Linked DNA regions of Homo sapiens: all the other regions are linked to region 3. The links are contacts of gene promoters, found by promoter capture Hi-C in blood cells and fetal thymus (Javierre and others, 2016). All regions are on one chromosome and are shown on one strand. Each heading gives the region's core, a stretch centred on a gene start or on the middle of the fragment in contact. The rest is flanking DNA. Distances are from core to core; before and after follow the strand shown. Region 1 overlaps TBC1D12 (TBC1 domain family member 12). Region 2 overlaps TBC1D12 (TBC1 domain family member 12). Region 3 holds the start of SLC35G1 (solute carrier family 35 member G1). Region 4 overlaps TBC1D12 (TBC1 domain family member 12). Region 5 overlaps HELLS (helicase, lymphoid specific).

Region 1 (5,261 bases), core at 85-2,584, 520 kb before region 3:
GTTATAAAACAAAATTCAGCACTTTCTTTATATTACAACATTTCAGTTACAGATGCTGTAATCTGGATTTTCTTAAAAGCTGCGCAGCTGCCACAAGTATTTTACCAAAATCTATATGTTTAGGTAGTTACTCCTTTAAACATGGACTGTTTTGCCAGCACATGGGTAACTAAAGATTGTTGGGCTTTGTGAGAATTAATAGAGCTAGATTTACTTGGAGATAACCAAATTCAAGCGTGGCAGGGCCCAAGTTTCTGGTTTTATTATCCTTCAATTTAATCTATATCTCTACACAGAGGTAAAAAAATGAACAAGAACATGGTCTCTGTCTCTGGAGGCTTTGCCATTTAGTAGAAGAGACATACATGGGCCGGGCGCGGTGGCTCACGTCTGTAATCTCCGCACTTTGGGAGACCGAGGTGGGCGGATCACGAGGTCAGGAGATCAAGACCATCCTGGCTAACACGGTGAAACCCCACCTCTACTAAAAACTCAAAAAAAAATAATTAGGCAGCCGTGGTGGCGGGCGCCTGTAGTCCAGCTACTCGGGAGGCGTGAGGCAGGAGAATGGCGTGAACCCGGGAGGTGGAGCTTGCAGTGAGCCAAGACTGCGCCACTGCACTCCAGCCTGGGCGACAGAGCGAGACTCCGTAGCAAAAAAAAAAAAAAAAGAAGAAGAGACACATATACATAGAGGTAATTATGGAAGTCTCAATTTTTTTTAATCTCTTTCAATCCTCAAAAATGGCTGATAAGTATACTGTCCCAGTCCACTTTTATAAAGCAATGTACAGAACTTTTACACTAGATGTGAAACCTTGATTTTGCAACAATTTTACACCTCCAGGGTTTTTCCTGAGGTTGTTTCCTTTCTGATCCGCAACATCAAAACATGTAGCCAAATAGCTATTCTGGCTCTTTTCCCATCCTCATTAAATTCCTTACAAAATATGGTAAGCATAATTTTTCACATGACTCTATTTTCATATCATCTCAATTCCTTCAAAAACAAAAATCCAGTTCAAAGTTTATTTTCCTTAAAGCTTCACAAAAAGGCTACTGGTATGTCTCACTCAACTTATTAACCACCCCTTCTTGCAGAGATTGAAAGATTTATCTAGTTATTTACTTTTTTTCTCTAATCCAATATTACTGGTTTAAAAAATGTTATTTACATCAACTATCTGTATATCACATTGTGAAAAGGAGACTGACAAACACCCATAAACTACCATAACTATCTCCATGCTCCAGTTTCTCAAGTTGCAAATCATCTGCCACACCGCTATGCAAGTCACCGTTCCGAAATGTAGTTCTAAGTATGTCTCCATTGTTTAAAAAACCCACAAATGTTCCCTGTACTGCCACCTCTCACTGAATCAGTTCAAATTACTTAGTTCTGTCAGACAAATTTAGCTCCCCCATAATTTAGACCCAACCTTTTTGCCTCAGTTTTTGACACATACCTCATGCACCCTAGAGGCAATCATCCAGATGAGAATCTGCAGTCCCAAAAAGTGCTGAGCTATTTTATATATAATTCTATATATATGTTATTTTTACTTGTCCTGTCATCACACTCATTCTAACCCAAACCCTCTTCTTTAGTAAAATACTAAGCTTTCATGTTTCATCTACTGTAAAGTTCCTAACTTCCTGTCTCAAAGTTAATCACCCCTTCCTCAGTACTGATGCATCCTCATATCCTCTTTTATAACACTTATCAGGTAATATTGTAAACATTGATATTATAGGACTCCCTTATCTGAAACTTTTTAAATAAAATGTTCTGTTTACCTAATATCCTATGTGCCTAGTATACATAGAGGACTCACAATAATTTGCTGAATGAATAAATAGTAAGAAAATTCCAAACTAATTAATAAGAACTAAAAAGGGTTCTGTAGCAATCTTAAATGTCTGAAGGGTAATCATGTAAATGAATTGAATTGTATTTTGTGGCTCTAGGGGGGAAATTGGGACTATGAACATTACAATGAACTACACTGTACTTCAACATAGAACCTTCTAACAACTAATACCCTCAATAGGCTCTGTTGAGAAAACCAAGCTCCAAATTAGTAAAAGAATTCAAGCAAGACTAAATAACATCTATCAGATGTCTAAACCTTCTGAGAATAAAAAGCACACACTTAGCTGTATGGTAGTTGCTGGTGCTTTGCTTTGTTGACATTTTGCTCATGTCTGACGTAGAAGTACATCCTGAACTGATGATATGCATGATAGAACCTTTCTTCCAGTAGCACAGGTGAAACCCAGATCCTGACCAAGGTAATTGTATTTTTTTTCCCTACATAGTGTTATGTTTCTATTAAATGGACAACTAAATCAAAAGTTTATGTTCCAGTGGTGTTGTGGAAGAGCAATACAATCTTATCTACTCATTAAAATAAGTGGCTAGTTATTATTTTACTCAAGAAAATTTTATAGTGGTTATCTCCTAAAATTTTCCCTTCATGCAGTATAGTTCTCAGCTGTGTTATTTGTACACCCAGTTTTGAAAGTAAATCCTTATTCTAGTATTTTTGACAGTATTACTGTGCTTCTGGGAGTATATTACAAAGATGGGCATTATCCTCCAGTTATTTGTTCAATTAGTGTGCTAGTTACCTTATATGATAATTACCTATCAAAAGTTTTATTAGTCTTTTTTTTGAGACAGTCTCGCTCTGTCGCCCAGGCTGGAGTGCCCAGGCTGGAGTGCAGTGGTGCCATCTCAGCTCACTGCAAGCTCCACCTCCTGGGTTCACACCATTCTCCTGCCTCAGCCTCCCGAGTAGCTGGGACTACAGGCACCCGCCACCATGCCCAGCTAGTTTTTTTGTATTTTTACTAGAGACGGGGTTTCACCGTGTTAGCCAGGATGGTCTCGATCTCCTGACCTCGTGATCCGCCTGCCTCGGCCTCCCAAAGTGCTGGGATTGCAGGCATGAGCCACCGGGCCTGGCTAGTTTTATTAGTCTTTAACTCAAAAATTTTGGTGACCAAAACAGAATTCTGAACCACAAGTCCTTTGTTTTCTAAATAACATTCAAGGATTACCAATCTCTATAACTCTGGGTAGTACCAATAACGTTAAAAAGTCAATGAGGGGTTGGGGGAGTTAAGGCTTATGTAAGTACAAAAAAGCAACTTAAATGTTATCACTCTTCAAAAATACAGAAACTACTTATTCAGTTGGGATGTTTTCCTTATTTAAAACTTCAATAACTTACTTTAGAACTTAAATTTCTATGTACTATATCTTCCTGGTAATGAACCATGAATTTTTTCCATGTGGGTAAGAGGGACTTTAATTCCATTTGCTAGATTTACCCTGGTACTTGTAGGAAAAATTTTCCTTTCCTTTTAGCACTGGAACTCAAATAAGAATACAGTGTGTACAACTGTATATTGCATTTATTTTACCTTTTGATAAATGTACATTTTAGTACCTGAAACTATCATACTAACAACCTAAACTTTTAGAGCCTAAATTAAACTTTATATGTACAACCTGTTATTAAAAAATAGTTCAGTTTGCCTGTAATCCCAGCACTTTGGGAGGCCGCAGTGGGCGGATCACTTCAGGTCAGGAGTTCGAGACCGCCCTGGCCAACATGGTGAAGCCCCATCTCTACTAAAAATACAAAAAATTAGCTGGGCGTGAGGTGCACGCCTGTAATCCCAGCTACTCCAGAGGCTGAGATGGGAGAATCGCTGGAACCTGGGAAGCGGAGGTGGCAGAGAGCCGAGATCGCACCACTGTACTCCAGACCGAGAGACAGAGCGAGACTCCGTCTCAAAAAAAAAAAAAAAAAGTTTCACAGTATGGCCTATTGAGAAGCCACTGGGAGACAGGGACGTTAGGGAAGTTAAGGAGAGATATACAAGATACTTTAAAGACACAAGTGGCTAGAAACATCCACAAAGGCACTGAGGTATGCCAAGTAGAAAAATTAGAAAAATATGGAAATAATCTGTGGTAATACTCTGAAACCAACAGGCCTAAGAACTAACTACATGGCTAACTTCTACCTAACATTTATTCTCTCCAGCAATTTCTCTCTCTACGAATATCTTCAAACTCATTCTCTAATAGTTTCTCGTACTATACTTCCTTCCAAACTCTCAAATTTTCTTTATCATCTTCTTACCACCTTAACAAGAATAACGTGGAAACAATGTATTATCTTTACCATACTTTCTTCCAAACCCTCAAATCTTCTTTATCATCTTCTTACCACCTTAACAAGAATAACGTGGAAACAATGTATTATCTTTAGCTTTATTTTATATTCCTTCTCCTGCTTTTCAAAAGCAAATAATGTGAACATTTTATGTTTTTCTAAAAAAAAAGTAAACTATTATAGTATTTGAATGAATTTTTCCTGAGACAACAACAAAAGAAGTATTTGCCCTACTTGACTAAAAGATGGCTACGAACAGTCTAGATGAAAACCAGATTTGGAAATTCTAAATAATGCCTAACGTATGATGGGTAGTTGTACATTACAGTACTTGGGAAAATATGAGAAAACAGCACATAATTTGATTTCAAAATTATTATGTTCAGTTCCAAATTTAAAATGTTTTAATCTATGTGGGGTTAGAGACAAGCAGATGGAAATATTTTTTAACAAAAAAAGTATCTAACATAAAATTCAAATTAAAAAAAAAAAACCTGAAAAGCCAAATTCAAAGATGAGTTAAACACCTTATCAAGTTCACTCTCAAACTAGCTCTAAGTAAGAAGCATGACTTGTAGCTTGATTTCCTAAGGTAAACTTCTCTTAATTGCAGGAAAGAGCATGCTGAAAACCCAGACAGTCACATGGGTTTCCCTCTCTTTCTTATTTTGGCCACAGAAATAAGAAGCATAAGAAAGGCTGAAGCAGCAAATGTTGGAGGGGAGAAAACCATGTGCAGTGTGCAGGATTTCTTCTTAAAGGCACGGAAAAGAATTACAAATAGCAGCAGAAGGAAGGAAAAATAACACTTTTTTCATAGGCTATAAGAAAGGTAAAGGTATGCCAACAAACTGAGTAGACCTGAGGAAAATCTTACAAGTTAAAGCTTTTCACAAGACAGGCAAGCATGGCTATCTAAACAGCATAAAATGAAAATAAAAGATTTTTCCCATTAATAAAAAGGAAGCCAAGAATGAATTTGTCCGAAATAATTTCTCATCCAAGTAAAGGCTAGCAAAGTACTTAAAGATTTGTATTTTGAATCTGTTCTCTATTATACACCTCTGTTTA
Region 2 (5,377 bases), core at 1,894-4,393, 540 kb before region 3:
CACCCTGCACAAGTATTAAGGATTTTACCTATTATCTCCATGCCCTAACCAACCAAATTAAGTACCTATTTTTTTATGTAAGCAGGGATGATACTCAACATATGTACCCATCAAAACAACATGACCAGGGCCCAATGAACCAATTAGGAAGGTACTGATGAATTCAACTCAATATAAACCCTTTGCATAAGCTATAAGTGAACAGTAAGAAAATTCTTAATTCACACATATGATTAATTACAAACAGTTCCAAATTGAAGTCCCAAATAATTAGATTTATCTATACTCAAAATGCCGTATCAATATATCTTAAAAGTGCAGATTAGTGATAATAGAAAATAAGTTTTTAATGAAAAATGTTAAGGGACTCCTACAAAAGAATGCAGGCTAATCAATAATAAAGAAAAGAAATGGCCAGGCATAGTGGCTCATGCCTGTAATCCCAACACTGGGAGGCCAAAGCAAAAGGATCACTTGAGCCCAGGAGTTTGAGAACAGCCTGGGCAATGTAGTGAGACCCTGTTTCTACAAAAAATAAAAATTAAAAAAAATAGCCAGGCATGGTGGTGCACACCTTGTAGTCCCTGCTACTTGGGAGGCTAGGGTGGGACAATCACTTGGGCCCAGGAGTTAAGGATGCAGTGAGCTATGATACTGCCACTATACTGCAGCCTGGGCAACAGAGCAAGACCCTGCCTCCAAAAAAAAAAAGAAAGGAAAAGGAAATAAACACTCTTATTTCCTCAGGTGTATAACAGAAATAAACATATGACACTAGAGTAATTTCTACTTTAAGATACTCTGGAGGTTTCACCTCAGAGACCATGTACAGTGACTTAATTCTCTACTTCATAAGATCACTAAATAGGTGAACGTTTTCAATAATGAATATGCTGAGGACTAGGAATACTTCTAAGAAAAAAATTTGAAGCCTCAAAGGATGGTCTATTAATTTAAACAATGTTTGATACGTTGTGTACCACTTATCAAGAAAACACTTTGTAGCTGATTTAAACAAATGTCTACATCTTATTTATGGCTATCATTTTCCTTCCAATTTGTTTATCTTTTTATTATTTCTGTTGATGATTCTTCTAATACCTCTTAACTCCAAATTCACCTTTATGCTCTAAGATAACAGAAAAAATTCCTTTAATCATTTCTCCTTTAAAACAAACATGAAATTATTAAGCTTTCTGGGTAGAGGGCACCAAAGGGACACTGAAGGAGAAAGGGGCTCTCCTGTGGTTTCCAGCTGCTGCAGAGTGGATCGGGTAGAAGTGTGAGGACATCCAGTAAAATTCTGCTTAGCTCGATGCCCAGACTGCAGCCCCTCAGCAAACCTGCAGCCTTGCTGAACCTGCAGCCTCAACCTGGAGATGGCGTTCCTGCAGCCTGCTCAACAAAAAAATTGACTCCACCAAAGGCTTCCTGCCAGCAACAGTGTGCCAATTTCCTCTGCAAGCCCCACACAGGCCAGACAGTTCTCATCAAGTCATATTCCCTCTACAATTCCTACGTGACCTGCCTGCACCCTAAAGGTTTCCTATCTACCCACACAAATAAACACAAGAAAAAATCTTTGTCACCATGGTTTAAGAAAATAATTATTGGATATGACACAAAAACATGATCTACAAAAGAAAAAGTTGATGAACTGGGCTTAACTAAATTTAAAACATTTGAACTTCAAAAGACATCATGGATGCAAAATGACAGAATAGAAAGATCTAGGGGTCAGTCTCCCCACCAAAGTAAAAGTTGAGCTAGAAAGAGTAACTGGAGCGGGGCATGGTGGCTCACATCTGTAATCCTAGCACTTTGGGAGGCTGAGGCGGGTGGATCACCTGAGGTCAGGAGTTCGAGACCAGCCTGGGCAACATGGCGAAACCCTGTCTCCACTAAAAATACAAAAATTAGCCAGGCATGGTGGCGCAAACCTGTAATCCCAGCTACTCAGGAGGCTGAGACAGGTGAATTGCTTGAACCCAGGAGGCGGAGGTTGCAGTGAGCTGAGATCGCACCACTGTACTCCAGCCTGGGAGACAGAGCAAGACTCTGTCTCAAAAAAAGTAAGAGTTAAAAAAAAAAACTAAGAGTAACTGGAATCAAGTACTTTAGTAGAACTCTAGGAACTGACCAAACCCTTTTAACAACCAGGGGAGTGCTTGATGAAGGAAGAGGCTACCGATCTTTCATAAGTATGAATAAGCAGCATGCATAAACCAATTACCTTCCCCTATTCCTCACAACCACCACCACCACACCCACCACCTCTTGTGGCAGTGGGGATAGCAGCCCATGTTCCTGGAGTTGCTAACCGGTGCCAGGAGGGACAGTAGGGATCATGTCCTTCAAAATTTAGGGTTGTACATTTTGGTTGGTCTGGCCCTAAGGGAGTGATGCAGGCACATGCATCAGTTTCACTACTCTCCACAGCAGTGGCTTTCACTGTAAGTATTATTAGAACAATAAAAAAGGTAAAACCTTTTTGATCTCCTTTTTTGGAGCCAGATATCTAAGAAAATCTTTGTCAGGTCACCAGCTAGCCACAGAGACAACAGAACAAAAACTTGTGACCATACACAATATGGAATACATACTTTGTGAAAATAGCTTGTAAAGTCACAAACAGGTGGCTTCAGCCCTCAACAAGCAAAAAACAGCAATCACTGAGGAGTGGGAGAAACAGATTTATAGTTACCATACTATAATACTCAGAGTATCCAGTTGTCAACAACAAAAAATTACAAAACATACCAAGAAACGGGAAAGTATGGCCCATTCCCTAGAAAAAGGAATTTGACAAAAATCTTCCCTGAGGAAGCCCAAAGTAATTACTAGTCAAAGACATTAAGTCAATTTCATAAAAAAAAAAAAAAAAAAAAAAAAAAAGCTCCAGGAGATTGAAAAAGAAAAAAACCCATGGACAAAGAACGAAAGGTAATAAAGGAGGATAAAGGGGGAAAATGTATGAACAAAATGAGAATACCAGTAAAGGCAGAAATTATAATAAGCAACACAACAAATTCTGGAGCTGAAAAACAACTAAAATAAAAAATTCACCAGATGTACTCAACAGCAAATTTGAGCAGGCAGAAGAAAGAGCTGGCAAATATGATGATAAGAAAATTGAAACTGTCCACTCTCAGTAGTAGAAAGAAAAAAGAATGAAGAAAAAGGAACAGAGCCTGAGGGGCCTGTGAGACATTACTAAGTGTACCAACTACGTACCATAAAAGACCAAGGAGAAGGGAAAGACAAAGAGGCAGAAAAAATACGTGAAGAAATAACTCACTTTGGGAGGCCAAGGCAAGTGGATCACAAAGTCAGGAAATCGAGACCTTCCTGGCTAACATGGTGAAACCCCATCTCTACTAAAAATACAAAAAATTAGCCAGGCATGGTGGCGGGCGCCTGTAGTCTCAGCTACTCCGGAGGGCTGAGGCAGAAGAATGGTGTGAACCCAGGAGGCGGAGCTCGCAGTGAGCCAAGATTGTACCACTGCACTCCAGCCTGGGTGACACAGCGAGACTCTGTCTCAAAAAAAAAAAGAAAATAACCAAAAACTTCCCAAATCTGAGGAAAGACATAATCTACACATCCAAGAAACTCAACAACTTTAAGCAGAATAAACTCAAGGAGGTTCACACTGAGATACATTATAGTCAAACTGCTGAAACTCAAAGACAATTTTGAAAACAATAAGTGAGAGGTACCATCAAAACCAGAGATCCTCAATAAGATTAACAGCTTATTTCTCTTCAGAAACCATGGAGGCCAGAAGTAAGATTACATATTTAAAGGTCAGAAAGGAAAAAAAAAAATTGTCCACCAAAAATTCCATATCCAACAAAACTATCCTTCAAGAATGAAGGAGAGGCCGGGCATGATGGCTCATGCCTGTAATCCCAGCACTTTGGGAGGCCAAGGCAGGTAGATCACGAGGTCAAGAGATAGAGACCATCCTGGCCAACATGGTGAAATCCCGTCTCTACTAAAAATACAAAAATTAGCTGTGCGTGGTGGTGCGCGCCTGTAGTCCCAGCTACTCGGGAGGCTAAAAAGCATTAAAGCATTAAAAAAAAAAAAGATTTTTTTCTTTTTTTAAAAAAAGCAATTTTGACTTTGTATCATCAATGACAGCTGGAAATTTTTTAAAATCTAAAGAGATATAATAGCAAGAAAATACAAGGTATGTGAGAAGAAATCTAGCCAAAGTTTTATAAAAATTTATAGAGAGAATGAAATGATACATTATTGAACCACATTAAAGAAAACCTCATTAAATAGAAAGATAGTTCACATTTATAGAAAGGAAAACACTATCATAAAAATATCAATTCTCCCCAAACTTATCTATCAATTTCATCCAATTCCCATCAGAAACCCAACAAGATTTTTTAGGAACTTGAAGGAAACTCAAAAATTTATGTTAAAGAATAAAGGACCTGGGCGGGCACAGTGGTTCACACCTGTAATCCCAGCACTTTGGGAGGCTGAGGCAGGTGGATCATGAGGTCAAGAGATCGAGACCATCATGGCCAACATGGTGAAACCCCATCTCTACTAAAAATACAAAAATTAGCTGGGCGTGGTGGCGCGCGCCTGTAGTCACAGCTACTTGGGAGGCTGAGGCAGGAGAATCAACTGAACCCAGGAGGCGGAGGTGCAGTGAGCTGAGATTGCATCACTGCACTCCAGCTAGCAAAAAAGTGAGACTCCATCTCAAAAAAAAAAAAGGAATAAAGGACCCAAAATAAGATATTTTCAAGAAGAAAAAAGGCAAGGCTGAGTTGCCCTAACAGATATCCAAATTTACCATAACATTACAGTTTTTAACAACATATGGTATTGACCCAGGGATAAAGAAATTAATCAATGGAGAAAGAATAAACAACTCAGAAACATACCCAAGCATAAATGGAAACACAGGTGGCACTGCAGATCAACGAGGAAAGATTGTGTAATAAATAGTATCGGGACCTCCGGCTAGCAATGTGAAAGAAAATAAATTGGATTCCTACCACATACCACAGTCAGTTCCCAATGTATCAAACAGTTATACACGAAAGGCAAACTTTTGAAAGCTTTAGAAAGAAACACAGGAGAATTTTTCTTCTAATCTCACAGGGAAAAATCTAAAAATCAGTCCCAAAAGCATTAATTTTTAAAACTTGATAAAATCACCAGCATAAAAAGTAATGAGTTCTGTTCAAAGAGCACTATAAACAAAGTAAAAAGACATAAATTTAGAGGATAAATTCCAACACACATAAATGACAAAAAATTAGCACACAGAAAATACAAAGAACTCCACTAACCACTTTCATAAAAGATAATCTAATAAAAAATAGATAAAAGGTATTGCAGAAAG
Region 3 (5,731 bases), core at 86-2,585:
CACAAGTCTGATCATTTCGGTTTGCCTTTAGGACAGAAATGGAGCAAGAATAGTCTTCCTAGAGTCTGTCTCTCTAACTTGGGGAAAGTGCACAAAGGGAGGAGGGGAAAGCGCAGTGAGAGGAGAGGAACAGAAATCCAGGGTCACACTTAGGGGAGGTGACCCAGAGGACAAGGTGGTGCAGGCCGTGTAACTGTCCTAAAAAGAGATCTGCCTATTCCCTTCTTCTTGCAGGAAGCTGCTCCTGGTAGATGGTCGACTTCTAAGAGGAATGTGCTTGAAGCAGCACTTGTGGCCAGTGGAAAGGGCCCTAGGCCGGTATATGGCAAGCTGGGATCCTAACCCTGGTGCTCCCTGGACATGCGCCCCATCTCACCCCCACGTTCCACATCTTGGAGGAGACAAAGCAAACGAAAACCCAAAAGCCCTCACCTTCCTGGGCCTCACTTTGCTCATGTGTCGAAGGAGGGGGACTGAACATAAAGTGTTCTTCACGAGGGGTCCCTGACTTTGGGGACGGGGCTGTGAGCTTCTTAACAAGATATGCCTTGTTCTGCATCGTTTGCTAAAAAGTCCTTGTATCCCTAAAGGTTAAAAACTAGCGGTCCCACTTATCTCTGCCTTTCCAAGATTCTAAAACTCTAGGACGAACATTTTTTCTAGACTCGATGCTTTTCAGCTTCCTTTTCGGAGAGAACCCTTAACCACCGGGATCACTTTTCAGGGTCAGCTTCCTCGCAACGTCGCCCCACTGCAGGATGGCCTCTCTCGCTGACCCCCCACCTACGACCTAGGGGAGGGTACGCCAAACTGCAGTCTGACTCCACAGCCCTGCCCCGACACTAATTACAGGAGCAGCCTCGGAATCCCAAAAGGACTGCTAACAATCGGAAAGTTTCTTCCGTCTTAGCGCCGGCTGGGGCGCCGGGAATTCCGCTTTGCAGCCCCCCAGCTGACAGCTCGAGGGGTTTCCCGAGCCCCGGGCAGGGTGGGGACGGAGGCGCGGCGGGCACTGTGCCCGGGTTGCGGGGACCCCAACCCGCCGGCGCCCGCTCGGGACCCCCGAGCGAGACCAGAGCCCGATCCACACCGCGCACTCACCCGGCTCGGTGCGGGAGCAACACGGCGAGGAAAGGCAGAGCCAGCACCTACCGCGGTCTGGCGCCCCAGCTGCCTCGGCGGCCGCCGGCTCCTCAGTGGCGCCCGGGGGTGCATCGTCCGTTAGCGGCAGCCCGGGCTCCTGGAGCTCCGCGACCCCGGTGCTGTCCTGAGGCCGCATCTCGCGGCACGCGCTCTACCAGCGGCCGGTGCCGTCTGGCGCCAGCAGCAGCGCCTGGGCTGCCGCTCTTCCGGCGGGCGATGGCGCCCATGCGCATGCGCGCCCGGCCCACCCGCACCCTCCCCCAAGGAGACCGCGCGCGTCCTCCGCTGGCCTCTTAACCTGGGGAGACCCGCTGCCTCCCTGGTCGGGCTGTGGTGCCCACAGCTGGCTCTAAGGCGTCCAACCCTCTGCTGCGTTCAGGCTACATGGCCCAGCTGCTTGGAGCCATCCTTGGCAAGTCACACTGAACCTGTCTGTCATGGCACAGACAAGGAGGGGCGCTGGGTTCCCAAGCCCTGGCGCCCGGGGGTCCTGTGGCCTCCTTTTCAGGAGGCTCAAAGAGTGGGCGTTTTTTCATTGATGTAACCACGCATTCAGCACCTCTGTGATACCCCGAAGATTTTACAAAGCACCATGCTTGTCTTTAAATGGTCTAGGGTTTTTATGTTTTGTTTTGTTTTGTTTTGTTTTGTTTTGTTTCCCGTGTTGTCCCTTTGCTGCTTACCAAGGAGGGTAGAATTTTGCTGTTTTGGGAAATATTTTTAAGAAAGAATTAGTGTGTAATTATAGGAAAATATATCTATAAGACTGACCAGAACCCATTTATATGTTCTTTGCATTCTTTGCAAGAGTAGGCATGCATTATTGATCTTTGGTTTTCTTTTCTTAAATGGAAATATCCTAATTTGGCCAGATGTAAGATTCAAGTAATCTGATGTAATTAGACCTGGTAAAATATATTCTTTGGCCCAGGATTCACTAACAGCCTCTTTTTGTTTAGCTAATAATTCTTCTTCCATCTCTTTGCTTGCTTTATATGTGGAAGAACAGTCTCTGTGCAAGGATGAACGTATCTAAACTTCTAAGTCCAGTGCCAAGCAGATCACCAAAGGAGAGTGAAGTTTGCCTTTACTCAGACATTTGCACATAGTGATCCACAGCTGAAACAGTTTTAGACTTGAAGTCAGGAATCCTAGGTTCTGGCCCTGAGTGTGTGACCTCAGTCACCACTGTACCCCTCGAAGCCTTGATTACCTCCTTTATTTAATAGCGATCAAGTATTTCCCTTCCTGCTTCGCAGAGTAGTTATGTAAATAAAATGCAATGATGTGGGCAAAAGCATAATATCACCTGGAAAACACTATGTTAGAAAATCAAAGTGTGTTTTAAACTAGGGTCAGCATATAATTTATCCTCCAAACTGGACCTTTTTTTTTTTAAGAGTAAAAGGAGGAGCTCTTTTAAAAGTTACACAAGGGAATAGGCATAAACTGGGACTGTCCTAGGCAAACTGAGACAAATGGTCACCTGAATTCTAACTTGATTAACACATACTTTTGCCTTGTCTTAAAAGAGAATTTAAGGCTGGGCACGGTGGCTCAGCCTACCATCCTAGCACTTCGGGAGGCTGAGGTGGGAGGATTGCTTGAGCTTAGGAGTTTGAGACCAGCCTGGGCAACATAGACCTTGTCTCTATAAAAAAAATAATAATACTTTTAAAAGAATTTAAGGCTACTTACAAAAATATCTGTAACAGGTTTTGTTGTCGTTGTTTTAGATAGGGAAATTTCAGGGAAGGATGGTAAGGGTGGTAGATCATGATTATAAAGCAAGAACCAGGAAGCTTCCTCAAATATCTGGGAAGTCAAGTGCAGTTTCACAATTGCATTCTAAGATTTCGATATGGAAAGGGTTTGAAGAGTCCCCTCCTCTTAAATGGTGAAGATTATGGCTAGGAAGTGTGGTAAAGAAGAAAGAAGTGTGATGATTTGAGAAGGAAGTACCCTGACTGCTCCACTTTCAACACTTTCAACACCATCCTCGAAAAGGGAGAAGAAGAAGAGAAGAAAATGGGTACTACACCAGTTATTAAAGGTGGTGAGATGATTTCATACCTGCTGTTTATTCCCTTTAACTTCCTTCCCCTCCACTGCTGACCTTCATATATAAATGGTATCAGTTATATTCATTCTCCCATTTAGCTGACAGCCATGCTGACATAAAAGGCAACCAATGAGAAAAGTGCGGACCAAGCTGGCCTGTAATCCCAGCACTTTGGGAGGCCGAGGAGGGCAGATCACTTGAGGTCAGGAGTTCGAGACCAGCCTGGCCAACATGGTGAGACCCCGTCTCTACTAAAAATACAAAAATTAGCCAGGTGTAATGGCGGGTGCCTATAATCCCAGCTGCTCAGGAGGCTGAGGCAGGAGAATCACTTGAACCCAGGAGGCGGAGGTTGCGGTGAGCCGAGATCACGCTGCTGCACTATATCCTGGGCAACATGAGCGAGACTGTCTCAAAAAAAAAAAAAAAAAAAAAAAAAAAGTGCGGACCAGACTAGAAGTCAGAAGACATGGCTGTCCTGAAGCTCCACCCAGTAGAGGTGTGGGGCTGTTAAGGTCTCTCCTGAACATTGTTATTTCAGGTCTTTGGTGATGATAGTGATATTGAGCTGGTGACAGATAGATCTCCATAATGTGCAGGATGGGCCAGAAATCCCGACTGTAGAGGAGACTAGTTCAGAGCCTATTGAAGTGACCCAGATGAGATTCTGACCCCAGGTAGAGAAGGCAAGGAGGAAAGATGGATTTTGAGGTGGCTAGGAGATGGAATGTGCAGAACTCGTTGACTAGATGTGAAAGAGCATTGTTTCTGTATGCAAAATTGTGCTGTGTTCCAGCACACACTCTTCTGCTTCTGAAGTGATTCAATCTTCCAGTGAGAACAGGAGCTCTCACTGTGATGCCAGGTAGCCACAGCAAGGATGGCACTCCCATAGTTCTGGTGTCAAGAAGGAAGATGAAAATGGAGAAGAGGTGGGTTTTAACCTGTCCCTGCTAACCACTGAAAGTCCAAGATCCTCACCATCCATGTGGCAGCAGGTGGAGACTTCCAGGAGGAGTCAGATTCCTGGTTTCCACTGGTCTTTGCATGTCAGGGATGTTCCTAAGTGAGACGTTTGTATGTCAGAAACTGTCTTTCATAACAAACTGGTACCTTGGTACTGATTTGAAGGACTGCTTTTTTTTTTCCAAAAAATTCATGGATTCTTACCTTTTAAACTAATGCAACTTATGACTTGGGAAATGGCAGTTTGTTCCAAACAGCCCTAATGTTTTGTTTTGGGAAAAATCAGTACTGTGGAACATAAGATCATATTTCTAAATAATCTTTGTAAATGAAAGAAGGGACCAGCAAAAGAGAGGTCATTTAGGATAAATGTAGGATAGAACACTGGAGAGGCAAAATAAACTGTTCAAATAAGTAGGAGCTGACTCTGATAATATAACAGAAAAAAATGCCAGGAATGGCTCCTCAAAAAATTAGACATAGTTACTATATGATCCTCCAATTCTACTTCTGGATATATATTCCCAGATGAAGTGAAAGCAGGAAATTGAACAGATATTTGTACATTCATTTTCATATTAGTATTATTCACAACTGCCAAAAGCTGGAAACAACTCAAATGTCTGTCAATGAATGAACAGATAAGCAAAGTGTGGTATAAAGCATACAGTGGAATGTTATTCAGTCTTAAGAAATGAAATTCTGACATGCTACAACATGGATGAACCTTGAAGACATTATGCTAAGTAAATAAACTGAACATAAAAGGACAAATATTGTATGATTCTATTTATTAGCAGGGCCTAGCATAGTCAAATTCATGAGACAGAAAGTAGAATGATGGTTCCCCGGGTCTGGGATGTGGAGGGAATGGGAGTTAGTGTTTAATGGGTATGGCATTTCAGTTTAGGATGGTGAAAGAGTTCGGTGGATGGATGGTGGTGATGGTTGTTCAGCCATGTGAATGCACTTAATGCCACTGAGTTGTATATTTAAAGTGGTTAAAATGGTAAATTTTATGTGTATTTTATTAAAATTTTTAAGGGGTTAAAAATGCCAGGGAAAACATTTCTGAGAGTTTGAACTTTAATCTCTGTAGACAGTTTAAAGCCCTTACCAGATTTTTGAAGTTTCTTTGAAGTCCTGTGTTTCATCTTTAAAAAGGCATGACAATTTTCCATTCTGATCCCTAATATGTTTATCTTTATCTTCATACCATTTTTCATGTAATGCATTCAGCTAGTGTTGTTTGAGTGCCCACTTTGGACCACGTACAGTTCTTGGCAGTGGTGGAGTTGGGAACAAAAGAGACAAGGCCGAGGACGTGATCGGGATGGGGAGGGAGATGATGGAGAAATGAAGAAATGATGCTAGCATTACCTAGCATCCTGCAAAATCCATGAGCCAGGGGTGTGGCACTCGTTTAGTTCCCAGCTTTCTGTTCTCTCCTGTTGGACAGATTGGGCTGGAAGTCAGGATGCTCCCTTTCAAGGGAGCTCTGACGATGGGGCCAGGACATTCTCCAGTTCTTCCTTGCTTTCCTACTCTCTGATCTGTTCC
Region 4 (5,892 bases), core at 1,891-4,390, 560 kb before region 3:
ATAAAGGCACATATAGATTTTTTAAAAAGGGATGGAGAAAGATATACCATGCCAATGCTAATCAAAGATAACAAGAGTAGCTATAGTAATCTCAGACAGAGCAGACTTCGGAGCAAGGAAAGTTATCAGGAATAAAGAGGGGCATTACATAATAAAGGGGTTAGTAATCCAAGAAGACACAAAAATCCTTATCATATATGCAACTAAAAACAGAGTGGTCAAGATACATGAGGCAAAAACGGATAGAACTACAAGGAGTAATAGATGAATCTACTATTACACTGGAAAACTTTAATGCCTCTATCAGAAATGGACAGATCCAGCAGTCAGAAAATCAGTAAGGACATAGCTTAACAACAGTACCATCAGTCAACTGGATGTAATTGACATCTGTAGACTACCGCATCCAACAACAGCAGAGGAAACATTCTTCTCAAGCTAACATGGAACATTCACCAATACAGACTACATTCTAGGTCATAAACTACACCTTAACAAGTTTAAAATAACAGAAATCATAAAATGTCTGCTCTCAGATCTCAATTAAATTAAACTAGAAATTGACAGAGATAGATAGCTGAAAAATCCCCAAATACTTGGAGATTAAACAACACACTTCTAAATAACACATGTGTCAAAGAAGAAATCTTAAGGGTAATTTTAAAATATTTTTAACTATATGAAAATGAAAATACAACTTATGAAAATTTGTGAGATGCAGCAAATACAGTATTAGAGGCAAAAGTATTGCTTTGAATGAATACATGAGAAAAGAAGAAAGATCTAAAATCAATCATCTAAGCTTCCACCTTAAGAAACAAGAAAAATTCAAGCAAATTAATTACAAAGTAAGCAGAAAAAAATAAAGAGCAGGAATCAATAAAATTGAAAACAGGAAGTCAGTAGAGAAAAATCAACAAAACCAAAAGCTAACAGTTCTTTAAAAAGATCAATAAAATTTATAATCCTCTTGCCATGATAACTAAGAGAAAACAAAAAAGACACAAATTACTAATATCAGAAATGAAAGTAGAGACATCACTACAGAGCCCAAGGACATTAAAAAGGATAATGAATAAGTATTATGAACAATTCTTTTTTTTTTTCTTTTTTGAGATGGAGTCTTAAGCTCTGTTGTCCAGGTGCCATCCTGGCTCACTGGAACCTCTGCTTCCCGAGTTCAAGCGAGTCTCCTGCCTCAGTCTCCCAAGGAGTTGGGACTACAGGCGCATGCCACCATGTCCAGCTAATTTTTTTGAAAATTAATATTTTTAGTACAGCTAATATTTTTAGTGCAGACAGGATTTCACCACGTCGGCCAGGCTGGTCTCGAACTCCCAACCTCAAGTGATCCACCTGCCTTGGCCTCCCAAAGTGCTGGGATTACAGGCCTGAGCCACCACACCTGGCTTATTACGAACAATTCTATGCCCATAATTTTGATAACCTGAATGAAATGAACCAATTCCTTGAAATATACCCAAACTAACATAAGAAGAAACTGAATCAATAATTAATAATCTTCCAAAACAGAAAGCACAGACCCAGATGGGTTCACTGATGAATTCTACCAAACATTTAAGGAAGAAATTGTATCAATTATCTATAATCTCTTCCACAAGACAGATGGAGAGGAAATACTTCCTCACTCATTATCTGAAGCCAGCATTACTCTAATACCAAAACTAGACAAAGGCATTACTAAAAAAGAAACGTACAGACCAATATCTCTTATAAACATAAATGCAAAAATTCCTCAAGAAAATATTAGCAAATCTAATCCAACAATGTATAAAAAGAATTCTATACCATGACCAAGTGGGATTTATCCTAGGTATGCACAACTGGCTCAATGTTTAAAAAAAAAAAATCAATTAATTTAATCAATTGCATCAAGAGGCTAAAGAACAAAAATCATATGATAAAACATCAATAGATGTTGGAAAAGCATTTGACAACATCCAACACCATTCATGAGAAAACCTCTCAGTAAACTAGGAATAGAGGGGAACTTCCTCAACTTGATAAAGAACATCTACAAAAAACCCATAGCTAACATCATACTTAATGGTGAGAAACTAGAAGCTGTCTCTCTAAGGTCAGGAACAAGGCGAGGATATCCCCGCTCACCACTGCTTCTCAACATTGTTCTGGAAGTCCTAGTTAATGCAATAGAAAAAGGAAATAAAAGTTACACTAATTGGGAAAGAAGAAATAAAATTGTCTTTGTTTACAGATGACATGATTGTCTATGGAGAAAGTCCAAAAAAATCAACAGAAAAACTTCTGGAACTAATAAGCAATAACAGCAAGTTTACAAGACAGAAGGCTAATGTACAAAAGTCAATCACTTTCTTACAATATAACAGCAATGAACAAGTAAAATTTAAAATGTAAAACACATTACCATAAAAATGAAATACTTAGGTATAAGTGTAACAAAACATATGCAAGATCCGTATGAGGAAAAGTACAAAACTCTAATGAAAGATAACAAAGAAGAACAAAACAAATGAAGAGATATTCCATGTTTATGATTAAGAAGACTCGCCGGGCGCAGTGGCTCACGCCTGTAATCTCAGCACTTTGGGAGGCCGAGGCGGGTGGATAACCTGAGGTCAGGAGTTCAAGACCAGCCTGACAAACATGGAGAAACCCTGTCTCTACTAAAAATAGAAAATTAGCCCGGCATGGTGGCACATGCCTATAATCCCAGCTACTCAGGAGGCTGAGGCAGGAGAATCGCTCGAACCTGGGAGGTGGAGGTTGTGGTGGCGCCACTGCACTCCAGCCTGGGCAACAAGAGCAAAACTCTGTCTCAAAAGAAAAGAAGACTCAATGTCATTTAGATGTCAGCTTTTCTCAACTTGATCTATAGATTCAACACAATCCCAATCAAAATCTCAGCAAATTATTTTGGGAATGATAAACTGAGTCTAAAGTTACATGGAGAGACAAAAGACCCAGAATAGCCAATTCAATATTGAAGAAAGACAAAGTCAGAGGGTTGACACTACTCGAATTCAAGACTTACCAGAAGGCTACAATAATCAAGACAGTGTGGCATTGGTGAAAGAACAGACAAATAGATCAATGGAACAGAACAGAGATCCCAGAAATAAGCCCACATAAATATAGTCAACTGATCTTTGACAAAGGAGCAAAGGCAATACAATGGAGCAAAGATAGGCTTTTCAACAAATGGTACTGGAACAACTGGACATCGACATGAAAAAAAAATCAATCTACATACAGACCTTACATCCATCACAAAAATTAACTCAAAATGGTTTACAGACCTAAATGTAAAGTACAAAACTATATAACTCCTAGAAGATAACACAGAAAATTTAGATGGCCTTGAGTATGGTGATGACTTTTTAGATCAACACTAAAGGCATGATCTACAAAAAAATAAAAAGTAAAATACAGTAGTCCCCCCTTATCCTTGGGAAATATGTTCTAAGATCCCCAGTGGATGCCTGATACTGAACCCTCTATGTGCTTTTTTCCTACACATATGATAATGTTTTATAAACTTTATAAATTTATAAATTAGACACAGTAAGACATTAACAATAATAAAATAGAGCAATTATAACAAAATTCTATAATAAAAGTTATATGAATGTGTTCTCTCACACACTCACATATGCACACACACAGACATACATGCACACAAAATATTTTTATTTTTTATTTTTATTTTAATATTTTCAGACTGCAGCTGACCATGGATAACCAAAACTGTGGAAAGTGAAACTGTGATAAGGGGAGACTACTATAATTGATCAGCTGGAGTTCACTGAAATTTAAAACTTCTGCTCTGTGAAAAGACAAGCCATAGAAAGAAGGTATTTGCCAAAGGCATGCCTGACAAAGGACTGTTATCCAAAATATACAAAGAAGTCTTAAAACTCAACAATAAGAAATTGAACAATCTGATTTTAACATGAGCAAAAGACCTGTATATCATCAGAGAAGATATACAGATGGCAAGTAAGCATGTGAAGAGATGTTCAACATCATATGTCATTAGGGAACTGCAAATTAAGACAATGAGACACCACCACACAGCTATGAGAATGGCCAAAATTCAAAACACTGACAGCACCAAATACTGGAGAAAATGTGGCACAAGAGGAACTCTCATTCAATGCTGCTGGAAATGCACAATGGTACAACCACTTTGGAAGATATCTTGCTACCTTCCTGCAAAACTAAACATATTCTTATGATCCAGTAATCACTTCCTTTGGTATTTACCAAAATGAACTGAAAACATAAAACCACACAAAAAATTGCACGCAGAAGTCTAGAGAAGCCTTATTAACAACAGCCAAAACTTGGAAGCAACTAAGACGTCCTTCAGTAGGTGAATGGGTAAATAAACTGTGGTGTTCCCAGACAATAGAATATTATTCAGCACTAAAAAGAAATGAGCTATCAAGCCATGGAAAGGCATGGAAGAAATATAAATGTATATTACTAAGTGAAAGAAACCAACCTGAAACAGCTAAGTACTGTCTGGTTCCAATTACATAATAGTCTGGAAAAGGCAAAACTATGGAGACAAGAAAAAGATCTGTGGTTTCCAGGGGATTGGAGGAGGGAAGAATGAATACACACAGCACAATTTTTAGTGTAGTGAAACTATGCTGTGTAATACTACAATGGTAGATACACGTCATTATACATTTGTCCAAAGCCATAAAATGTACAACACTGGGAATGAATGATACTGTAAACTATGGACTTTGAGTGACTGTGTGTCAATGTAAGTTCATTGGTTGTAAAAAATGATCCACTGTGGTGCAGGATGCTGACAGTGAAGGAGGTTGTGTGTATGTGGGGACAGGAGTTATATGGAACTCTCTGTACTTTCTCCTCAAATCTGCTATGAACCTACAACTGCCATAGTTTTTACATTTAAATACATATATTTAAATATATATGAATTTAAATACATATATTTAAATATATATGCATTTAAATACATATATTTAAATATATATATGCAGATCTAATCCAGAAATATGCAAGGTGAATAATAACTGTGACTGATCATAGTTTATTCCTGGAATGCAAAGTTGGTTTAACAACCACAAACTAACTTATACAACTTAATAATTTAAAAAAATGATCAAAAGAGTTGGCACTTGAGTTTTGCCTCACATGAATGGACCAAAAGCTACACATATAATGCCCAAGAAACATTCATCAAATCTCTGAAGGATGACATCATGTTAGCCTTCAAACTGTCTTCCATACATGATGTCTCAAATATTATATGTTTTCACATCCAGTACTCAAGCAAAGGTAACTGGGCACACAAAGAGATAAGATATCACCTGTTAGCAAAAACTAGCAGAAATAATATTTGATATAAGCAGACCTATAGGAGTTCCAGATGCTGGAATTTCCAGACATATGAAACAGCTTTACTTACTATATTCAAGGAGATAAAGGCCAAGCTTGAAATTTCAGCAGGGAACAGTAAACTGTAAAAAGTGATACAGCAGATTTGAAAAAGAACCAGCTAGGAACACAAGAATTAAAAACACACAAAATTGACATTAAGAACTCAATGTATGGAGCCAATGTATTCTTAACACATTCTCTAGGTAGTTCTAATCATCCAATGTGTTTGCAAATCAGAATAGATTATTATTTAAAAAATCTTAATAAACTTGTCCTCAAACCCACTGTTTTTTATAACCTTTTTAAGATTTTTTGTTTAATTTACATATAATAATTTTACATACTTATGGGATACATAGTGATGTTTTGATACATATAATGTATTGTGATCAGACCAGGGTAATTACCATAGCCATCATCTCAAACATGTATCATTTCTTTGTGTTGGGAATATTCAATATCCTCCTTCTT
Region 5 (5,814 bases), core at 3,283-5,782, 650 kb before region 3:
ATCCCAGCACTTTGGGAGGCTGAGGCGGGCGGATCCCGAGGTCAGGAGATTGAGACTGTCCTGGCTAACACGGTGAAACCCTGTCTCTACTAAAAATACAAAAAATTAGCCGCGTGTGGTTGCAGGCGCCTGTAGTCCCAGCTACTTGGGAGGCTGAGGCAGGAGAATGGCGTGAACCCGGAAGGCAGAGCTTGCAGTGAGCCGAGATCGCGCCACTGCACTTCAGCCTGGGCAACAGAGCGAGACTCCATCTCAAAAAAAAAAAAGAAAAGAAATGGGGGTATGAATTCATTTTTATACTCTAAATAATGCCCTAGCACTTGGGTAGTTTTGCTGCTCCAGCTTATCAATATCTCTAAGATATCATTTTATATTGCCTTACATTTTCCTAGCTATTACATCATCACTATAGCTTTCTTTCAAAATATATTTCTTTTTCTTTTTTGAGATGGAGTCTCACTCTGTTGCCCAGGCTGGAGTGCAGTGGCACAATCCTGGCTCACCTCTGCCTCCGCCTCCCGGGTTCAAGCAATTACCTGCCTCAGCCTCCCCAGTATAGCTGGGACTAGAGGCACCTGCCACCACACCCCGCTAATTTTTGTATTTTTAGTAGAGACGGGCTTTCACCATCTTGGCCAGGCTGCTCTTGAACTGACCTCGTGGTCCACCTGCCTCAGCCTCCCAAAGTGCTGGGATTATAGGTGTGAGCCACCGTACCCGGCATCAAAATATATTTCTATTATAAAATCAGTGACTACAGTAAGATTCTAAGAATGGACCTAACAAAAGTAATGCATACTCATTACAGAAAAACTAAATGTCAAAAAATATATAAATCACCCATAATCCCACCTACACAGATAATTCTTAATATCTTGAACTCAATTTTCAGTTCTTTTAGGACAGAATTTCTTTTACTATTACCAGTATACTACTGTGGTTACAATACGCAACTACTGAGGTGAATATGAAAACAGGGAGATGAAAATTACTTACACAATATATGGATTCTTAAATTTTTAACTTTTAAAATTTAAGTTCAGTTAAAATAACGTGGGTTTAACTTAGATATAGTTGATACCTTAAATCCTGTACAGAATTAGCACTTTTTCTTTTTTCTGAGACAGGGTCTCGCTCTATCACCCAGGCTGGAGTGCAGTGGTGAGATCTCGGCTCAATGCAACCTGCGCCTCCCAGGCTCAAGCGATAATCCTCCTGCCTCACCCTCTTGAGTAGCTAGGACTATAGGCGCGTGCCACCATGCCGGCTAGTTTTTTAATTTTTTGTAGAGATGGGGTTTCACCCTGTTACCCAGGCTGGTCTTAACCCCTGGGCTCAAGCGATCTGCCCCGCCTCAGCCTCCCAAAGTGCTGGGATTACAGGCATGAGCCACCGCGCCTGGCCAGCACATATTTTTAAAACAACTAAATACAGCCAGGCATGGTGGCTCACGCCTGTAATCCTGGCACTTTGGGAGGTCGAGGAAGGCAGATCACGATGTCAGGAGTTTGAGACCAGGCCGGCCAATATGTTGAAACCCCGTCTTTACTAAAAATACAAAAAAAATTAGCTGGGCGTGGTGGCACGCGCCTGTAGTCCTAGCTACTTGGGAGGCTGAGGCAGAAGAATCGCTTAAACCCGGCAGGTGAAGGTCGCAGTGAGCCAAGATCACGCCACTGCACTCCAGCCTGGGTGACAGAGGGAGACTCCGTCTCAAAACAAACAAACAAGCAAAAAAAACCTAAATACTTGCCTGGTGCTCCTGGAAAAATTTTTCCTAAAAAAAAAAATCAGCTGGGCATGGTGGCTAATGCCTGTAATCCCAGCACTTTAGGAGGTCAAGACGGGCGGATCACCTGAGGTTGGGAGTTCGAGACCAGCCTGACCAACATGGAGAAACCCCATCTCTACTAAAAATACAAAATTAGCCAGGCTTGGCGGCACATGCCTGTAATCCCAACTACTCAGGAGGCTGAGGCAGGAGAATTGCTTGAACCCCGGAGGCAGAGGTTGCAGTGAGCCGAGACTGCGCCATTGCACTCTAGCCTGGGCAACAAGAGTGAAACTCTGTCTCAAAAAAATAAAAATAAAAATAAAAATCACTAAAGCTTTAAGATGCCATCATGGAAAAAAATAATATACAATTAATATTAAAATAATACCATGTAAGTGGTTAATCCTTAAACCTGGTCTTCTGTATTTCAAATCTTCCTATCACTGTTTTTTCTTTATTTATCAATTTCATGATTATATTACGGTAAATTGCAACTCCATCTATTAAAAGCACTGAGTGCCTGGCAGGAAACAACTCTGGGTAACTACAGTACAGAGTATGCCAATGGACACCGAGGGCAGAAATTCCTCATTATCTACCCCATTATCTCTCCCAACACCAATCCCAGATTTTTTATTGGGGGGTGGGAGGAGTTCTATTTTAGCCTACACATATCATGATCCTTTTACCTCTCCAAGAAATCTCCTGACTCCAACTATTCCCCCTCCTCCACTTCACAGGCACTATCAGTACTCAAATCTCCTAGACTAACAATGACTTCTTTTAAAGGGAAATACATGTGAAAAGTCAAAGAAAATAACTGTAGCCAATGAATGTCAAAGTCATTTTCTAGGTTCCTCACAAACCTTAGGATTTCCTAAAGCCAAATGCTTCTCATTAAGGAACTTAAGCTAGCTCTTCCTCTGTTAAGTACTTCTAAATACATGCCCATACAGACTGTATTCTCCCAAAAGAAAAGGAATCTCTACCTGTGCATAGTTAATTGTTTGGCCTCCAAAGACATGTTTATTAATCTCAAGTAGGTAGAGACTCTGAAAACTTTTCTTAGAATTTTCTAGTGTCATCTAGGCAATCACTTTTTATGAGGGTCCAGTGCAAAAAATAATCAAAAACTTTCCTTATCTGTACATAACAAGACAATGTAATACGAAACCACAACACTAATGTTTTAGCAAATTACACACTTATATTAAGATTGAAAACGGCTACATACTTTTTTTTTTGAGACGGAATCTTGCTCTGTCACCCAGGCTGGAGTGCAGTGATGCCATCTCGGCTCACTGCAACCTCTGCCTCCTGGGTTCAAGCAATTCTCCTGCCTCAGCCTCCTGAGTAGTTGGGACTGCAGGTATGCGCCACCACATCTGGCTAATTTTTATATTTTTAGTAGAGACGGGGTTTCACCATGTTGGCCAAACTGGTCTCGAACTCCTGACCTCAGGTGATCCACCCGCCTCGGCCTCCCAAAGTGCTGGGATTACAAGCGTGAGCCACCATGCCAGGCCATGAAAACAGCCATATACTTTTTTAATGGAAGGATTAAAAATTACTCTTTAGGTTCTATGATGCATAATTATTAAATTTAGGACTAACTGCAAAATGTTTGTTCATAAGCTTAAAAATGTCATTAAAAGTAGCAGGTCATTTGACCTCAGCAAATATATAAAATACTACATATTTGACTTATCTTTTTTAAATGTGAAGTGTTTCTTCCTTGAATGAATAATACCTTCTGAAAATGTACTGTTGTCATATCTCAGGCATATCTTTCTTTAAATGCTATTTCCCTACCCAACACTCATAATGGGTATATGAAGAAACAAGATAAAACTGAAGATACATTACTCAAGACAAAATTATCACATCCCTCTTAGACTTCTTCAGTTGATTCCATTCTGGGCACTTGCCCCAGAATTTATACTTTATAATTCATCTGGTTATATAGCTAATAAGTATATTTAGTATATGTATATAATCTTGTATATTATAAAATACCATTTTATCATCGTTAGCTATTCAATAAGCACTTACTGATTGCCTACTATGTGCCAGGTGCAAAGCCTACAAAAACAAAACAGCAAGTGATGCACCCTCAAGAAACAAAGTGAGAAAGAATCAAAAAGTAGTATGAAGTATTTATCATTACTTATTTGGTCATGGTAAATTCTGTGTAATAAAGTACTATGAAAATTCAAAGAATGAGAAAAGGTGGTTCAGGTCAGACCTCTCAATTCTGTTAATTCACATCTACCCTGAAGCAAAAAGTATTGATGTTACTTAAAGAAAATTTGTTAATATATTACCTTAACTGGTTATAGTCAACCAGAGATCATCAGTAATAACGGAAGGAGTATTACTGGAGTGGAACTATAGCATGGTAGTTAAAAAATGTGCATTCTAGAACCACATGGCCTACACTGGAATGTTAGCTCTGCCATTTACCAACTGTGGCACCCAAACAACCTCTATGTGCCTCAGTTTCCTCATCTGTAAAATAAGATGACTAATAAAACCTATTTGGTTGTGTAGTTCAATAATAGCAATTGTTTATACTAGTAATTAAACTAGTAAGTTTAATAGCAGTAATAGTAATAATGAACATCTACTTTACAGAATAGTTGAGGATTCAATGAGTAAATACATATAAAGCATTCAAAACAATGCATGACTCCTAATAAATGTTCAAGAAGTATTAACAATGCTGACAAAAAAATTATTGTTGACATAACAGGGAACCAACGGCCTCATTACTCGTTTTTGGAATGCATTATTTTCCAACTTAAGTAGTTTTATAATCATGAGTTAATTCACTATTATTAAGGACAGAAATTCTGCAGGCAGCCTGAGTTGAAATTTGACTTCAACACTTACTATGTGCCCTTCTCCCTCAGTTTCTTCATTTGTAAATGAAAATAACAAAAAATAACCTATATCATAATATCGGTAGAGTTTAATAAATTAATAAAGCACAAGAAAACCACGTACTAGGCAGTACTTAAGAGTCAACGATCATTCTTTTTCTTGCATATGAATCAAGCAGCAGGGTGGGGCTTTAGAATAAACAAGAATTTTTCAGGTTAAAAACTGTTTTTAGTAACTTACAAAATGCTCTCTACAAGAAAACTACAGCAACTTGTCATTGAAAAAGTACGGCACATTTTTAGCTAAAGAATCTTATGTAGCAATACACAGGCCATGAAACCAAAAGAAAAACAAACAGCAAGTTGATCACTTAGGTGGAAAACAGCACTACAGTATAAGGAAATCATTAGACTTGGATTCCAGCCCAGCCTTTGATTGATGCTAACTTCTCCTGCCCTCAGTCTAGTACATTACTTCTGCAGGTTTTAGCGATTCCTGTTTGCCATGAGACATACATTTAAGGTAATTTTTAAAGGAAATAAGGATGACAAACGAAAAAACTCACTATGGACTTTGAAAGACTTTTCATGGCTAAACAAGCAATCTGAAATGCTCATTTAAAAGTGATGGGACTACCAAGACTACATCTCATAGAAACACACCATTCAAAGCACTTGCGAAAGGATTCTCAAAGGCAATATCTGTAAACATACAAAAAAGACAAGTAATAAAGCTGTTTTCTTTCAGTTATTAAAAAGCCCACTAAATAGGAAAGCAAAGAACACAAACCACACCTCCGGGTTAAAGCCGAGGTTACCACAGGCTTTCACGACGACGAACCTGATGCCTAAATTACCTTTTCCAGCATCTTCCGCTCTCTCTCTAGTCCAGCAGCTTCAAGCTGTTCTTCCTCTTCTAGCATGGCCGGGGTAATCACAGCAGTGTCCAGTTGTTCAACCATTGCTGGAGCCTCCGAGCCTGACGGGGGAGAAAGCTTTCAAATTGCAGTTTTAAAAAAATTACCAACTACTCAACTCCAACAAGAAACAGCCTTTCTCCCACCCGAGATGCACTGGAGCAAAAGCTGAAGACCGAGGGGACGCCAGCATCACCTCTCAGAAGACACCGTAAGTCTTCACAATGTCTACAAGTCGCCT

The links. The method cuts DNA at HindIII sites, captures the fragments that hold promoters and counts their contacts. A CHiCAGO score of 5 or more calls a contact.
Region 1: a contact is called between a fragment that was not itself captured here and the fragment with the promoter of SLC35G1 in region 3, in 1 of 17 cell types (megakaryocytes). The highest score is 5.2, in megakaryocytes.
Region 2: a contact is called between a fragment that was not itself captured here and the fragment with the promoter of SLC35G1 in region 3, in 1 of 17 cell types (megakaryocytes). The highest score is 5.4, in megakaryocytes.
Region 4: a fragment that was not itself captured here is called in contact with the fragment with the promoter of SLC35G1 in region 3 in 1 of 17 cell types (megakaryocytes); the score reaches 5.0 in megakaryocytes.
Region 5: a fragment that was not itself captured here is called in contact with the fragment with the promoter of SLC35G1 in region 3 in 1 of 17 cell types (M1 macrophages); the score reaches 5.0 in M1 macrophages.

What each region holds. Positions count from the first base shown.
Region 1 is chr10:94,413,161-94,418,421 of GRCh38, reverse strand. All of the region lies in intron 1 of TBC1D12 (TBC1 domain family member 12), which reads right to left. Among named protein-coding and RNA genes, the nearest start is that of TBC1D12, 13 kb to the right of the region's middle. The HindIII fragment of the contact is 577 bases long and covers 1,046-1,622 here.
Region 2 is chr10:94,435,510-94,440,886 of GRCh38, reverse strand. The region is part of intron 1 of TBC1D12 (TBC1 domain family member 12); the gene reads right to left. Among named protein-coding and RNA genes, the nearest start is that of TBC1D12, 36 kb to the right of the region's middle. The HindIII fragment of the contact is 3,898 bases long and covers 1,195-5,092 here.
Region 3 is chr10:93,889,582-93,895,312 of GRCh38, reverse strand. SLC35G1 (solute carrier family 35 member G1) reads right to left here and starts at 1,335. Exons shown (of 3, transcript NM_001134658.3): 1 at 1,102-1,335. The coding sequence starts at 1,279. RefSeq lists a silencer at 932-1,361. The HindIII fragment of the contact is 3,349 bases long and covers 1-2,947 here.
Region 4 is chr10:94,451,167-94,457,058 of GRCh38, reverse strand. All of the region lies in intron 2 of TBC1D12 (TBC1 domain family member 12), which reads right to left. Among named protein-coding and RNA genes, the nearest start is that of TBC1D12, 52 kb to the right of the region's middle. The HindIII fragment of the contact is 4,672 bases long and covers 805-5,476 here.
Region 5 is chr10:94,546,198-94,552,011 of GRCh38, reverse strand. HELLS (helicase, lymphoid specific) reads right to left here. Exons shown (of 22, transcript NM_018063.5): 2 at 5,514-5,635. Among named protein-coding and RNA genes, the nearest start is that of HELLS, 3.3 kb to the right of the region's middle. RefSeq lists an enhancer at 5,295-5,814. The HindIII fragment of the contact is 2,242 bases long and covers 3,412-5,653 here.